Regions from separate parts of the Homo sapiens genome. Here regions 1 and 2 are each linked to region 3. Evidence: promoter capture Hi-C in human tissues and cell types (Jung and others, 2019). All regions are on one chromosome and are shown on one strand. Each heading gives the region's core, a stretch centred on a gene start or on the middle of the fragment in contact. The rest is flanking DNA. Distances are from core to core; before and after follow the strand shown. Region 1 has its middle 26 kb from the start of TIGD2. Region 2 overlaps FAM13A (family with sequence similarity 13 member A). Region 3 holds the start of PIGY (phosphatidylinositol glycan anchor biosynthesis class Y).

Evidence for each region. The method cuts DNA at HindIII sites, captures the fragments that hold promoters and counts their contacts. A contact is called where the count stands out against the background at its distance.
Region 1: a contact is called between a fragment that was not itself captured here and the fragment with the promoter of PIGY in region 3, in 2 of the 25 tissues and cell types used here (IMR-90 fibroblasts and hippocampus).
Region 2: a fragment that was not itself captured here is called in contact with the fragment with the promoter of PIGY in region 3 in 1 of the 25 tissues and cell types used here (spleen).

Annotation. Positions count from the first base shown.
Region 1 is chr4:89,135,192-89,139,951 of GRCh38, forward strand. No RefSeq gene overlaps it. Among named protein-coding and RNA genes, the nearest start is that of TIGD2, 26 kb to the left of the region's middle. The HindIII fragment of the contact is 7,650 bases long and covers 1-4,760 here.
Region 2 is chr4:89,043,177-89,048,047 of GRCh38, forward strand. The region is part of intron 1 of FAM13A (family with sequence similarity 13 member A); the gene reads right to left. Among named protein-coding and RNA genes, the nearest start is that of FAM13A, 12 kb to the right of the region's middle. The HindIII fragment of the contact is 6,600 bases long and covers 1-4,871 here.
Region 3 is chr4:88,522,206-88,526,587 of GRCh38, forward strand. PIGY (phosphatidylinositol glycan anchor biosynthesis class Y) reads right to left here and starts at 1,571. Exons shown (of 2, transcript NM_001042616.3): 1 at 1,293-1,571. PYURF (PIGY upstream open reading frame) reads right to left here and starts at 1,571. Exons shown (of 2, transcript NM_032906.5): 1 at 1,293-1,571. The coding sequence starts at 1,495. It overlaps PIGY-DT (PIGY divergent transcript), which reads left to right and starts at 1,605. Exons shown (of 2, transcript NR_134663.1): 1 at 1,605-1,727; 2 at 2,560-2,786. It also overlaps a transcript of HERC3 not described here. RefSeq lists an enhancer at 869-928. The HindIII fragment of the contact is 23,527 bases long and covers 1-4,382 here.

The DNA.
Region 1 (4,760 bases), core at 495-2,994, 610 kb after region 3:
AAAGTGCTTAGAACAATGCTTAGCACATAGTAAATAGTATTGCATAAACACACACAAACACACAATGCAGTAATTTCTCACATTTTGCGTAATCAAACTGGGATAATGACTTTATGATTCCCTTATATAACTATAAAGAAATATTTCATTATCTGAATTAGCTTATTCATTGAGGACTATTAAAATGTAAGGGATAAACTGGATATCTAACATACATGTGAACTTTCTACTTCTTCCACTTATGTCTATTAAGTGTATTTGCACTTGATAGATATTTTACAATGTGGGTATAAAAATCCACAGGTAGCATAAAAGTAAAGGGGAATGATAATGGTCTTTCTTGTTTTCTAGTAACAGCTTCCCCCCGCAGTAGTGTTCTTTTTTTTTTTGGAACACATATTGGCAATGGGAATATAAAGACCTGAAGGAGGCTCTCTGCCTAGCTTCAAGGAACCACAGGATACTTAGGGAATTAAAGAATGATAAAAGGAAGAATATCACGAGACACCTGGGAGTCTCGTTCTTTATCATTTGCTCTTGACACATGAATTTCCAAAACACGTGTCATTTCTTAACCAGGACAGAACTGTAATAATTTGTTCTAGTTCTCACATGCATTCTTTATGATGAGAAATCTGAAGTCATCCTCACCTTTGTTCCTGTATATGTAACAAGGCTTTCTTCTCTGGTTCCTAGGATCTTCTCTTTATCATTAGTTTGGGGAAATTTGATTTGTGCCTTGCTATAATTTTCTTCATGTTGCTTGTGCCTGGGTTTGTTGAATTTCTTGGATCTGAGGTTGTCACAACATATTGCTTTCTTCACAGAGAGATAACCCTGTAGATGAAGTGATAAAAGTTCTGAATGATACTACAAAATGGTTGGCTTTGTTAAATAAAAACCAATTCATGCCATAATGTTTTAAAAATTGTGTTATTATTTGGACAAAGATTACATACATCTCCTGCTACATATAGAAATCTGTGGCTTAGCAGAGGAAGGATTTGCAACAGTATGCTTTAGCTGACAGGTGGATTGGAGTGCATGAGTATTTTCAAGGTAGGCCAGCTTTTGCTGAGTATTTTGAATAAGAAGGTGGTGGCTACAGCAATGAACTACTTAGCAAATATTTTTCATCACATGAACCAGTTGAATGAGTATCTATAAGACCTTGGAGAAAGTAGCATGATTTCAAGTGACAAGATTCTTTGATTTATATAAATCTGAATTTTTAGAAAAATCATATTGCAATGGCAAATTTTAAAATTTTCCCACTGCTACTTGGGTTTAAGAATGAGGAAAGATATTAGTAAGAGTTAAATTTTATAGAAAGCCACCTTGAAGAACCGCAGAACAAAATGGCACAGTATTTTTTCTTTCTTTCAACACAAAGGTGAAAAACCTTTTCTCTGAATCTTCTACTGCTACTCTACAGTTTGAGAACCTGACTTTGAAAGAGGAAAAATAACTTAGTAAGCTGCCATCTGATCATGCAGTCAAGATAAGGCTTACTCATCTGCTCCTAGACGACTTTTGGATTTCTGTGAATGAAGAGTATCCTGCTAGTCACAGGAAAGCAATAAACATTCTGCTGCATTTTTTTCAATTCGTTACATATGTGAACAAGTTTGACTTGTTTAACAATCATCATGAGCAAGGAAAAATATCAACTCATTTTAGTTGAAATGTCATCCATGTGTGTTTATCTCAAGTTTGATCCAGCATTGTATTATTGTACAGCAGAAAAATAGCACAAGTTTCAAGTTACTTTGTTCTTTATTTCTAGTTTCAAAAGTAACAAATTTTATGCATAGGTATATAGAGGAGATATAAAAATTCGACACATATAAAATTATTATGATCATAACAGCTAGTCTTATACTTGAGCTTAATCATGTTACTCAGGAAGAAAATAATTTTTTGAAAGCTTTGTTAAAAAGTGTGTCTTAGGGTATACTTTTATTAATATTCTGTGGCTTATGGTTTTAATAGTTGTACTAATTGCATTGTCTAATTTTCATGTTGTAAATAACATTAACTAAATCAACATAACCTTTTTTTTTAATCAACTTTTATTTTAAGTTCTGGGGTACATGTGCAGGATGTGCAAGTTTGTTACATAGGTAAACGTGTGCCATGATGGTTTGCGGCACAGATCAGCCCGTCACCCAGGTATTAGGCCCAGCACCCATTAGCTGTTTTTCCTGATGCTGTCACTCCCCTCTCCCCCTACAGGTCCCAGCGTGTGTTGTTCTTCTCCATCACCGTAAATTTTATTCAAATTCAATCAATCAAGCCTACCTTTAGAAAAAGTAAATTATAAGTTTTTGGCTTAAACTTGCTAGTTAACAGAAATTTATTGTTTGCCTTATATGTTTTTTAATAACTTATGAAAAAGAAAGTAAAATATTACTTTCAAGAAATGTAAGCTAAACAACTTTTTTTTTTCAAGACAGTTTGGGGAAAAAGTCATCCTTAGTTTTAAATAGGGGAAACAAACCTTAATCTACCATATAGCACACAGCGTACCTTCTCAGCTACTTGTAGAGTAGGACTTGACGGCAAACCTTTAGGCTTTCTGGATGCAGAGGCCATAAGAATGCAGCTTGCAGACCTCCACCTGTAGGGAGCTCAGCCCCGCTGCCGTGCTCCGCACTCCATTGCGGGGTTGGTACTAAGGCCGTGCTTCCCAGGGACTGCTCCTGGCCGGTGACTGAGTACAGGAGGAATGCTATGGCAGGCCATTTCTGCATGTCATTAGACCCCCGTGATGGCTGACTTTGGCTCCCTGATAGCCTTGCTAACCCTTCCTCAGACCTCATGGCCGTCGAGGCTACTCAACACCCCACCTTTCTTCCTTCTTCCCTCACTCGGGGTCCTACCTGCTTCATGGTCTGATGGCTCTTCCAGGGCTCCAGTCTCCCTTGTGTTTTCCCTCTAAGGTATTTCCCTTAATAAAATCCTTACCTGTTTAAATCCAATCTTGGTTTCTTGGATAACTTGGACTAACCATTGGATATGGTTTAAAAATCAAGTAGTAAATAAAAATAAAAGGGAAGCTAAGTTTTCTTTACCTATTGTACCAATTTATGTTAGGGTTGATGTCTTTTATGGTGAAGGAGAAGCACACAGAAAAACTAAGCTAATAAGGTATCCATAGAAAAAGATAATTTGTTTCTCAAAAAAGGATTGACAATTATTGGATTATTATACCTATTGCTTATGATCACGGTAATATTCTGTGATTAGCAGATATTAAGAACATTTATGTAAGGATTTCCTGATACTGGAAAATTATTTCAAGAATTTCTCCAGGGTAAAAAGACTGAGAAAGGCTACTCCAGGCTACTTCTGATATGCCTCAGTTCAGTCTCATTTGACTTCCTGGGTGTTACATTTTGTGATGAAACTGAAATATTTTGCTCCCACTTTGGAGCTCAAAGTAGCTGAATCCAATTCTTGCCAATGCAGAATCCCATTCTAAAAGCCATCTGGACAGGGCCCAGTGGCTCATACCTGTAATCCCAACACTTTGGGAGGCCAACAGTTTGGGAGGCCAGGAGTTTGAGACCAGCCTAGGCAACACAGTGAGACCCCGTCTCTACAAAAACAATTTTTAAAAATTAGCCAGGTGTGGTGACATGCACCTGTAGTCCTACCTACTTGGGAGGTAGAGGTAGGAGGATTGCTTGATCAAGGCTGCAATGAGCTATGATCACACCTACTGCACTCCAGCCTGGGTGACAGAGTGAGACCTTGTCTCTAAAAAAATTAAAAATAAAAGTAAAGCTGTTTTTTTTTTTTCTACCTGCCCCTTTATGTGACTTACGGAGTCTCTAATGGAGTCTAACTATACTACAGAGTTAAAAAGCAAGATTCTAGCCCTAGAGGGATTACAAATTTTACAAGGTTATTAAGACAAAATTTATGTACAGGGGCAATATAAGACTACTGTTCACAGATTTAGAAAAGAAATCAAAATTTGGGTGTTAAACATGGCAAAAAATCCTAATTGCTACAATTGGGACTCAAGATCCGGGCCAGGAGAGGAGCAAAGTATGGTATTTAAGAACATCTTGGGTGGGTATGATGGCTCATGCCTGTAATCCCATCACTTGGAGAGGCTGAGGAGAGAGGATTGCTTCAGCCCAGGAGTCCCAGACCAGCCTGGGCAACAAAATGAGACCTCGGCTCTACAAAACAATTTAAAATTAGCCAGGTGTGGTGGCACGTGCCTGTACTCCTGGCTACTTGGGAGGCAAAGGCAGGAGGATGGCTTGAGCCCAGGATGTCGAGGCTACAGTGAGCCGTGATCGTGTCACTGCACTCTAGTCTGGGTAACAGAACAAGACTCTGCCTCATAAACAAAAAACAAAACAACAAAAATCCTTGGTTTGATCACTGACTGGCTGTATGACATGTGGCAAGTTACAGTCTCTCTTTAGTTTTCTTACCTATGAAAATAGAAATAGTAATACCTACTTGGGAGAATTACATAAAAAATCTATGTAAAGTGCTTAGCACATAGTAAATAAAAATCTATGTAAAGTGCCTAGCACATAGTAACCACTCAATAAAGGGTAAGTTTCATCATTAACAAGGATGATTTGATACAAGTTTTCATCTTAGTGCTACACTATATAGTCATTTTGCATTCTGCTTTGGGATCAAGTCCTTTTCATAAATTATTATTATTTTTAAAACCCAGGAAAATATGAAAAAAAAAATCAAACATACCTAGGCTCCCACAGTTCAGTGTG
Region 2 (4,871 bases), core at 1,150-3,649, 520 kb after region 3:
GGAGCTGAACAAGACTCAGCTGATTAGAGAAGAGGCGGGAGAAGGTACAGAAAATACCTACAGGCACACCAAGGTGGCAGATATCAGGAAGCATTAGAAAAATACACTAACTAAGAGTGAGTGTATCACCTTGGGAGGCAAGTTTATGAAGAAAAGACAACAGAGCTCTCTTGACCCAGGCCAGCTTCTGAGAGGCAAAGGAGAGATGGGCAAACAGAGGGGCTGTATTAAGAAAACAGTCATTTTTGTAGCAATAGAGGGGGGAATCTCCTGAGCTGTGAAACCTGAAAGGCTACTTTGGCCCATTATTACTATACCCCATAGGAAACTCTTGCTACTAACCTGCAAAAATTCATCTTACTCAGGATGAGTAGGAAAAAAGGATCATGGACAGCATTTATATAGAAACAGTATTTTTTTAAGTATAAAAAAGCATCACAATCTTCCTACAACAACTCATCAGAAAAATGCTGCCAAGAAGCAGACGGAAACTATAAACTAACAAAAAGAACAAAATTTTAATAAGGATGTGACAATAGAAGCACAGACAACAACAACAAAAAGATAAATTGAACATCAAAACTAAAAATGTTTGTGCATCAAAAGACACCATGGCCAGGAGCAGTGGCTCATGCCTGTAATCCCAACACTTTGAGAGACTGAGGCAGGAGGATTGCTTGAGTCCAGAAGTTCAAGACAGTCTGGGCAACACAGCAAGACCCTGTCTCTACAAAATACAATCAATCAATCAATCAATCAATAAGCAAGCCAGCAAGCTGGGCATGGTGGCACACACCTAGAGTCCCAGCTACTCAGGAGGCTGAGGTGGATGGACTGCTTGAGTCCAGGAGGTCAAGGTTACAGTGAGCCATGATCTCACCACTGCACTCCAGCCTTGGCAACAAAGTGAGACCATATCAAAAAAAAAGACACTAACAACAGAGTGAAAAGACACAACACATAGAATAGAATCCTATAGAATAGGGGAAAATATTTGCAATTCATATATCTGAATACATATTCAAAATATGTAAAGAATTGCAACAATTCAACAACAAAAAATAGCCCAGTTCGAAAATGAACAAAGGACGTGTATAATCATTTTTCCAAATAAGACATAATGTGGCTAATTAGCACATTAAAAGATGCTCAACATCACTGGTCTTTAGGGAAGTGAGAATCAAAACCACAATGAGATATCGCTTCACACCAATTAAGATGGCTATTATAAAAATGAAAGAAAGAAAATAACAAGTATTGGTTAAGAGGTGGAAAAGTTGTAACCCCTGTGCATCATCAGTGGAAATATAAAGTAGAACAGCCAAAGTGGGAAACAACTAAATGGTTCCTCAAAAAGTTAAACATAGATTTACTATATTATCCAATGATTCCCCTTCTGGGTACATACTCTGAAAGCAGGGACTCAAACAAACATTTGTTCAACGATGTTCATAGCAGCATTATTCACGACAGCCAAAAAGTAGAAACAATCTAAATTGTTTCGCAACAGATGAAAGGATAAATACAAGGTAGAATATACATAAAATGGAATATTATTCAGGCTTGAAAAGGAATGAACTTCTGACACATGCTACAAGATGGATGAACCCTGAAAGCATTATGCAAAGTGAATAAACCAAACACAAAAAGACAAAAATTGTCTAGTTCCACTAATACGAGATACCTAGGCTAGGCAAATGTATAGAGACAGAGGGAAGGACAATGGCTACCAGGGGCTGGGAGGTGGGAGAAATAGGAAGTTATTGTTTTATGGTTATAAAGTTTATGTTGGAGGTGATAAAAAGTTCTTGAAATGGATAGTGGTAGTGATGCACAACATTGTGAATATGCTTAATCTTACAGAATTATATATCTAAAATGGTTAAAATAGTAAATTTTATGTTATGTATATTTTATCACAATAAAAAAAGTTAAAGAATTGATCACAATGATGAAAGAACACAAATCAGAAATAAAAAAATTCAGGAAAGAGGTGATCAGATAATAGGAGAATGTGAAGTGGAGACTGGTGGAACTCAGGAAATGGGGAAAAGGAAAAGGAAAAAACATTTCAGAAGTGAAGACTGAATTATAAGAACACAAAGAAGAACAGAAACTGTTCACCTCAGTAAGGGGCAGAGAGGAAATGAGGAAAGTAGATATAATGAAACATTTTTAGAAATCACAATGATTTCAGAGCTACAGAAAGCAGCTAACTGATGCCACTTTATGCCCCATTTCCACTCTTTGGAATCCCCAATGAAGAAAATCAAACAATGGAATAGAATATTTAAAGACATAATTCACAAAATCTTTGTTTAAATAAAAGTGCTTTGAGTTTACATATTGAAAGGCACATCACAACCCGGAACAGTCCACACAAAGATATATTATAAGGAAATTATTAGACTAACAATAAAGAATCTTTTGCACAGCCAAGCAAAAATCATGCACTATGTAATAAAAGAAAAATAAGAGTGGCCTCAAATTTATAGATTGCAATATTTGACCTTGGCAGAGTATAAAAGGCTTACAAAATATTTATGGAAAGAAAGTATGAGCCAAGGCAGGGCGTGGTGGCTCATGCCTGTAATCCTAGCACTTTGGGAGGCCAAAGCGGGCAGATTACCTGAGGTTGGGAGTTTGAGACCAGTCTGACCAACATGGAGAAACCCCGTCTCTACTAATAGTACAAAAATTAGCTGGGCATGGTGACGCATGCCTGTAATCCCAGCTACTCGGGAGGCTGAGGCACAAGAATCCCTTGAACCTGGGAGGCGGAGGTTGCAGTGAGCCAAGATTGCGCCATCGCACTCCAGCCTGGGCAACAAGAGCGAAACTCCATCTCAAAAAAAAAAAAAAAGAAAAAATAAAAAAAATTATGAGCCATATTTAATAATCAGCCAAGCTGTCCTTCAACTATAAAAGCTACAATTTGAACAGACAAAGGCTAAGAGAATACTGCACACCTGAACCTTCCTTGTCCAAACTACCAGAGAACAAATTTTAACCAATTAATTAATGACTGGGAAAGTTTGATGAAAAGACCAGCAAAAAAATTAAAAATAAAATAAAAGTATAACCATGTAATATGAAGAAGAAATGAAAAACCTGGAACAGTTATACTCAAAAGAGAAGATTTGAGGTTGGAACATATTCAGGTTTTAAAAGAGCTGCCACGTGGTTCAGACGGTAGGAGAAAGTAAATGGCAGTTACATGGAGACACGTTTTAAGACATATAAAGAAGAAATAACAGTCACTTCTATTGATGGAATAGATTTTCTCAGAAGGTAGTGAAATTCCTAGTAATCGAAGACGGGCAAAAATCATAATGTGATACCATTTGTTATCCATTCTACTAATAGAAATTTTTTAAAAAAAGAAAAGAGTGGCCGGGCACAGTAGCTCATGCCTGTAATCCTAGTGCTTTGGGAGGCCAAGACAGGCAGACTGCTTGAGCCCAGGAGTGCAAGACCAGCCTGGGCAATATAGCAAAACCTCTTTTCTGCAAAAAAATACAAAAATTAGCCGGGTGTAGAGGCATGTGCCTATAATCCCAGGTACTCAGGAGGCTGAGGTGGGAGGATCACTTGAGCCAAGGAAGTTGAGGCTGCAGTGAGCCATGCTCACACCACTGCACTCCAGTCTGGGTGACAAAGTGAGGCCCTATCTCGAAAAGAAAAGAAAAGTAACTCAAAGAGTTGAGTAAAAACCAAAGAGTAATAAAAATAAATTTTTTTAAGTAAAAAAAAAGAAAGAAAAAAGAGAAACGGATGTTGGAAAGAAGTATAGGTGGGATCTAAAGTGGCTCAAATTTCTGGAAGGCAATTTGGCAGTGCCCAGCAAAAGCTGGAGCTTCTTCATAGGTCATTCTCTCTCCAACCAGGCTCCGAACACAGGGGAAGGGCAAGTAACAGTGAGCAGGACTCATATCTTATACAAAGGGACTGCCAGATATTTGGAATATACTGTTATCGGGGGTGGGGTGGAGAGAAGGCTATAAAACTCATGTCAAGCATAATCTGTTTTTATAAGTCTATATGATCACAGAAAAACTTTAGAAGGACATACACAAATATATTAAGTGGTTTTTTTTGGGGGGGTTGTCAAATCTTGAATAATGCTTATTTTCTCCTCTTAAGTTACCTGCAGTTCCTCATTTTATACTCCAGACACGTGTTACTATCACAACAAGAAAATTAAAGGTTATTATAAACAGTTAAATTCTCTATATAAACACAAGTCAAGACCTATTGCTGAATTCCATGATGGTAGAGTGAAGAGGTCTGCAAATACTCTCCTAAAAAAATGTATAAAACCAGACCAAACAAAAAAAGTTTCAGGGCTCTAGAAATTGATCAGAGATATAAAAATTACATTGAGAAACATTTATTCATGAATGGGAGATGAAGTGTACTTAAGAATAGTGGGAGTTTGCAGCACTCTTGCCTATTCCCAACCCCTCCATGCCCTAGGCTGGGTTGGCACAGTAGTGTTACTACAGGGGGAACCAGCGGTGAAAACTAGCGGCTTTGGTGATTTGGAAGAGAGGACAAAAACCCCACACCCAGTGGATCATGTATCTAATAAAGGACTTGTATCCAGAACATAAAGAACTTTTATAATTCAATAAAACCAAAATGACACAACTAAGAAACAGGCAAAAAATATGAAAACACATTTAGCCAAAGAAGATATACAATGGCTAATATGCATATGAAAATATGCCCAATATCATTACTCATGAAGAAATTGAGATAGCACTACTAACTCACTACAATGGTTATAAGAAAAAAACTAACAATACTATATGTTGGCAAGGATATAGAGAAACTAGAACCCTCATTCATCACTGGTGAGAACATAAAAT
Region 3 (4,382 bases), core at 321-2,820:
CTCTTACAATCTATAATTATTCCCATTTTAGTAGTTTCTCTCATATTCTCTTTTTCACCTTATTCACAAGTTATTCCTTAATTTTTTTTCATACTAGTCAGAAAAGATCCCCCTCTCTTATCCAAATATTCCTTCATTACTTTGGTCAACCCCCAAACCATCCCTGTTAATTTACTACTGGAATAAACACTAGAGAAAAATCAACTTCTTCATTTTAGAATAAATGCTAAGTAGAGAAACTTAACTAATCCATTAGAAGGAAATCACTGGAAAAGGTGAGAGGGCAGAAATGAAGAAACTTTCGAAAGCACTAAGTCTGCAGTGAGCTAGTTATAAACGTAAATCAAATGATAATTTCAAGGTTCGAGAAAATTGAATAATATGTTTATTACGGGAAAAAGAAATACGAAAAATTGCTAGCAATCTACCATTCAAAGATAACCACTGATAACATTTTGGTGTTTATGCGATTTGTAATACTAGCGTTAGTGTTGTCAATATTCAATTTTGGTAGCTTGGAAACTGTAGAGCTGTCTTCCCAAAAACTAGTTAAAGAGGCTTCTACGAAACCTGCTAGGCCACAACTAAGAGCCACTGGGCAGCAAACACAGCTGAATTGCTTAAGATTGTCAGGCACCAGTTGTACAAGACACTTTCACAAGAATCTGGAGGGTACAACAATACTTTTCATTATCTTGGCTTAAAAACCGGAAGGCTTCGGACTTGTCCTGAATCGCAGTGGTTCATAAACCTGGTGGTACATTAGAAATCATTTAGGGACCGTTTAAGAACACAGATAAGCTGGGCGTGGGGGCGGCGCCTGTCTCTCGACTCCTGAGGAGGCTGAGGCGGGAGTTCTAGGCCAGTCTGGGCAACGTAGGGGGCACCCTGTCTCTTAAAAGGAAAAAAAAAAAGGAAAAGAAAATACAAATGTTCAGGTCCCATCCCGCGAGCATTCCAAGTCTGCCCGTCTTGGGGGCTGTCGGGGAATCGGCATTTTTAAAACGGTCCCCGGGTGATTGCAATGCGCAGCCGGTCGCGAACCCTAAAACGCTTCGAGCCATTCCCGCAGGCTGGCGTTGCGTTCTGGGAGATGTGGGACGCAGCTCCCCTGGCCTCCGGTCTCCCCCGTCCTGCCCGCTGTGCGCCCGGCGAGGACAGAGTCCAGAATGTGGCAGCGGAGAGTACCTGACCGACCTACAAGGCCCCAGTGGCTGCAAGAGGCCGCGGTCCACCGCTCCCTTTCCGCCCACCGGGAGGCTGCAAAGGAAGGGCCAAGGCCAGCGAGTTACCTGAGCGGCTTCTTGGAGAGCGGGCACACCAGGAACTCCAGCAGCGCCGGATCGAAGTCGCGGGGCGGCTCCTCAGTCTTCTTGCCCCGGTCGGCCAAAGGCCGCGACCCCGACGCGTGCAGGCACCTACGGGCGACCGCGGACGGCGGCGCGCGCGTTCCCCGCAGCGCTGAGGCGAGCCTGCAGCGTGCTCCACTCAGCATGGTCTGGCAGCCGGAGACCAGGCCTCACCGCAGCCTCGCCACCCGTGGCCGAGCTCCCGGCTTCCCGTTCGTCCAGGCCAGCCGGGCAGGCCCCGCCCCCTGGTCCTCCAGGAAACGCTGCCGAGGAGTAGGCGGGGCGGGCGCTTTGGTTCCGAGGGTGCTTCTGCTCCGACTGCTTTTCCCACGGGCGTCATCTATAGTCCGGAGGACAGCCCCAGGGCAGAGGCCTCTGGTGAGTGCCCCGCCGCCTTACCAGACTACAAACTAAACCAGTGTTTAAGTCAAGGTGTCTGGGTTTTCACCGGGGCCTGTCCAAGGATGCTAGGAAGCCAGTGGCCAGGCCTCAGAGTTGTAGGGAGTTAGGCTTGGACCTACGTGGTTACCTCCAAGTGAAGTTTCAAACACACTGTTATGTATTGTACCGAATGTATTGTCATGGATGTATTGAAAGCGCTCATTTGTTTCATGTACATCTTTACTATACCATTAGTTTCTGTAACCTTGTTTGGCTTTTTTCTCTCTCATTAAAAAAAGTGAGAACCTGGAAGGAAGGGCCTAGGCCTCTGACCCTCCAAAATATATAAATTCTTCCTGCCTGAGACCCAGTCATTGTGAAGTATTTGCGTAATAAAGCACAGCTAATTTACTTCTATAAATGAGCTTGGAGGCCGCAAGGGGCCTAAATAGCTGTGTAACAGGCAGATGTGATCTGCCTGTTAAAGATCCATTCAATGAGTGGGTGATCCATTCAGTGAATTTGTATCCCAGGTTTGCTTCCCACTCTCCAAGAAAGTGACCATGTTAGATCTCTTTCTTACAGTGTAGTAGATGGGAACTTGGGCTCTGGGGCCTGACAGCTTGGTTCCCTGTCCACAATTAGTAGCTGGATGACTTTGGCAAATGACTTAACTGCTCATTTTCCTTATCTGTATAAGACTAATAATTGTACCTACCTTGTAGGTAGGGCATAAATGTGATTGTGCATTCGAAGAACATTTAGAAAAGTGCCTGGCACAAATTAATGCTCCATTAATGTTGTCTATTTTTATTTTTAGTTCATCTAGTTTTTCCATGTCCGAAGACTCAAAGATTCTCATTAGTCATCCATTTTTTCCCTCCGTTCTGCTGAATATCAACCTGAACTTTTTTTTTGCATCACTGGGCATTATCATTTCACACTTTGAGTTCCTGGAGCTGGAAGTACAGAATCCAAAAATATGTTTATATTTTCAAATTTCTCTTCCACTCCAATGTAAAAATAAACTGACAAATGTTTATATGTTCATCCTAATTTTTTGTTTGTTTTTTGGGCCATCCTGTTTTTTTTAAAAAAAACAGTTTATTTTTTGATGTTCTTTGTTCACTAATGCTCAGAAGATTTTCTAAGGTTAATGTAGTTTATAGGATACCAAAAAGGAAACACTTCTACTGGATAGATATTTAAGAGATAATGAAAGTCTCTGGTTGCCTCACCTTCCTTCCCTCACAAAGCAATCTTTCACAGTCATAACTTTCCGTTATTAGAGTTACTAACGGACTAGAGAATAGGGCAGTTATCGGGACATACCCTCAAGGGAAACTACTGTAAAGTTCCTATGTCACCTTCACACTATTTCCGACTAGGGCAGTAGCAGGAATTAATTTTTCAGTTGAAGTCAGTTGATACTTTGGGCTCAAGGGAAGGGGTGAGCTGTAGGAAAGATAAGTTTCTGCTTAAGGAGAAACAGCGCTTGACTTCTGCAAGCGCTGAGTGGGCCCAACCCTTGGCGCTTGTTGGGTAGGGGAAGGCACCCATGCTTAAGCCTCAGCTAGCTTGGCTGACAGATCTCTATCAACTGGGTTTTCTAACCAGTTATAAATAAATTAGTTTCAGTTTGCCTCCACATAGAGGGTTTGAGGCAGTTCAGTTTACTTTATTTAGGGGAAGAATAGAGAGTAACAGCAAAGTATTGAAAACATCCTCAAATTTATAACACCAGAAATCAACAACCAATATTTAAGGAACATATGAATGTATGACTATCACCATGTGTGTATTAAGTTGCAACATATCAAAGCAATATGTCCCTAAATAGCCCTTAGTAATGAAGAAATACAATTCATTTCTGCCTGTAGTATACTAAGCTAAATGTAGATGATAGGATAGGATCATGGGACTGGAACTGGTCTTTTAAAAGTTAGTCCCTTTTCACTATTCACATGACTGACCTTTCGTGTCACATAGGCCTGTGCACAATAACCTGATGGTTTCTGGGCTCAGATACAATATAGCTGTGTGATCTTGGAGAAGCTACTTAAGTTCTCACCCTCAACCTTCTCACTTGTGAAATACAATAATAATAGTATGTAACTTACAGTGTTTGAACAGACTAAATAAAACAATTCAAGTAAAACAGCACAGGGGCTAACACATTTAAAGAATGTTTAGCAATAAAATTATTTATTATGGTGAAACTAGTAAACATTCTGATGGAAAGGGAAAGCACAAGGTACTTCTGGGACACTCTTTTTAACTGAAATGGAATTTTTCTAATTTCCAATATGGATACTATTGAAACACAATTCTTGGATTATCACACACATGAAGTTAGAAATCTCTAGGCAGAAGAGGGGCTGGACTATGTATTTTAACAGAGCCTGTCAATTCCAAATTTGGGGGCATTGAAATTTGTGAACCTGCAATCCAAAGAAATGAGTCAAAATAAATTTTCCACTAGATGGCATCATTTAGTATTTGAACTAACATTTATCTCTGCTTGATCTTTTCTTTCTGTGATTACAAAGACTTACTTTCATTTTGCCAATTGTTTCTTAGTTTGACAACACTTATTTTTTATTTTTATTTTATTTTCTTGAGACAGATTCTCTCTGTGTCATCCAGGCTGGA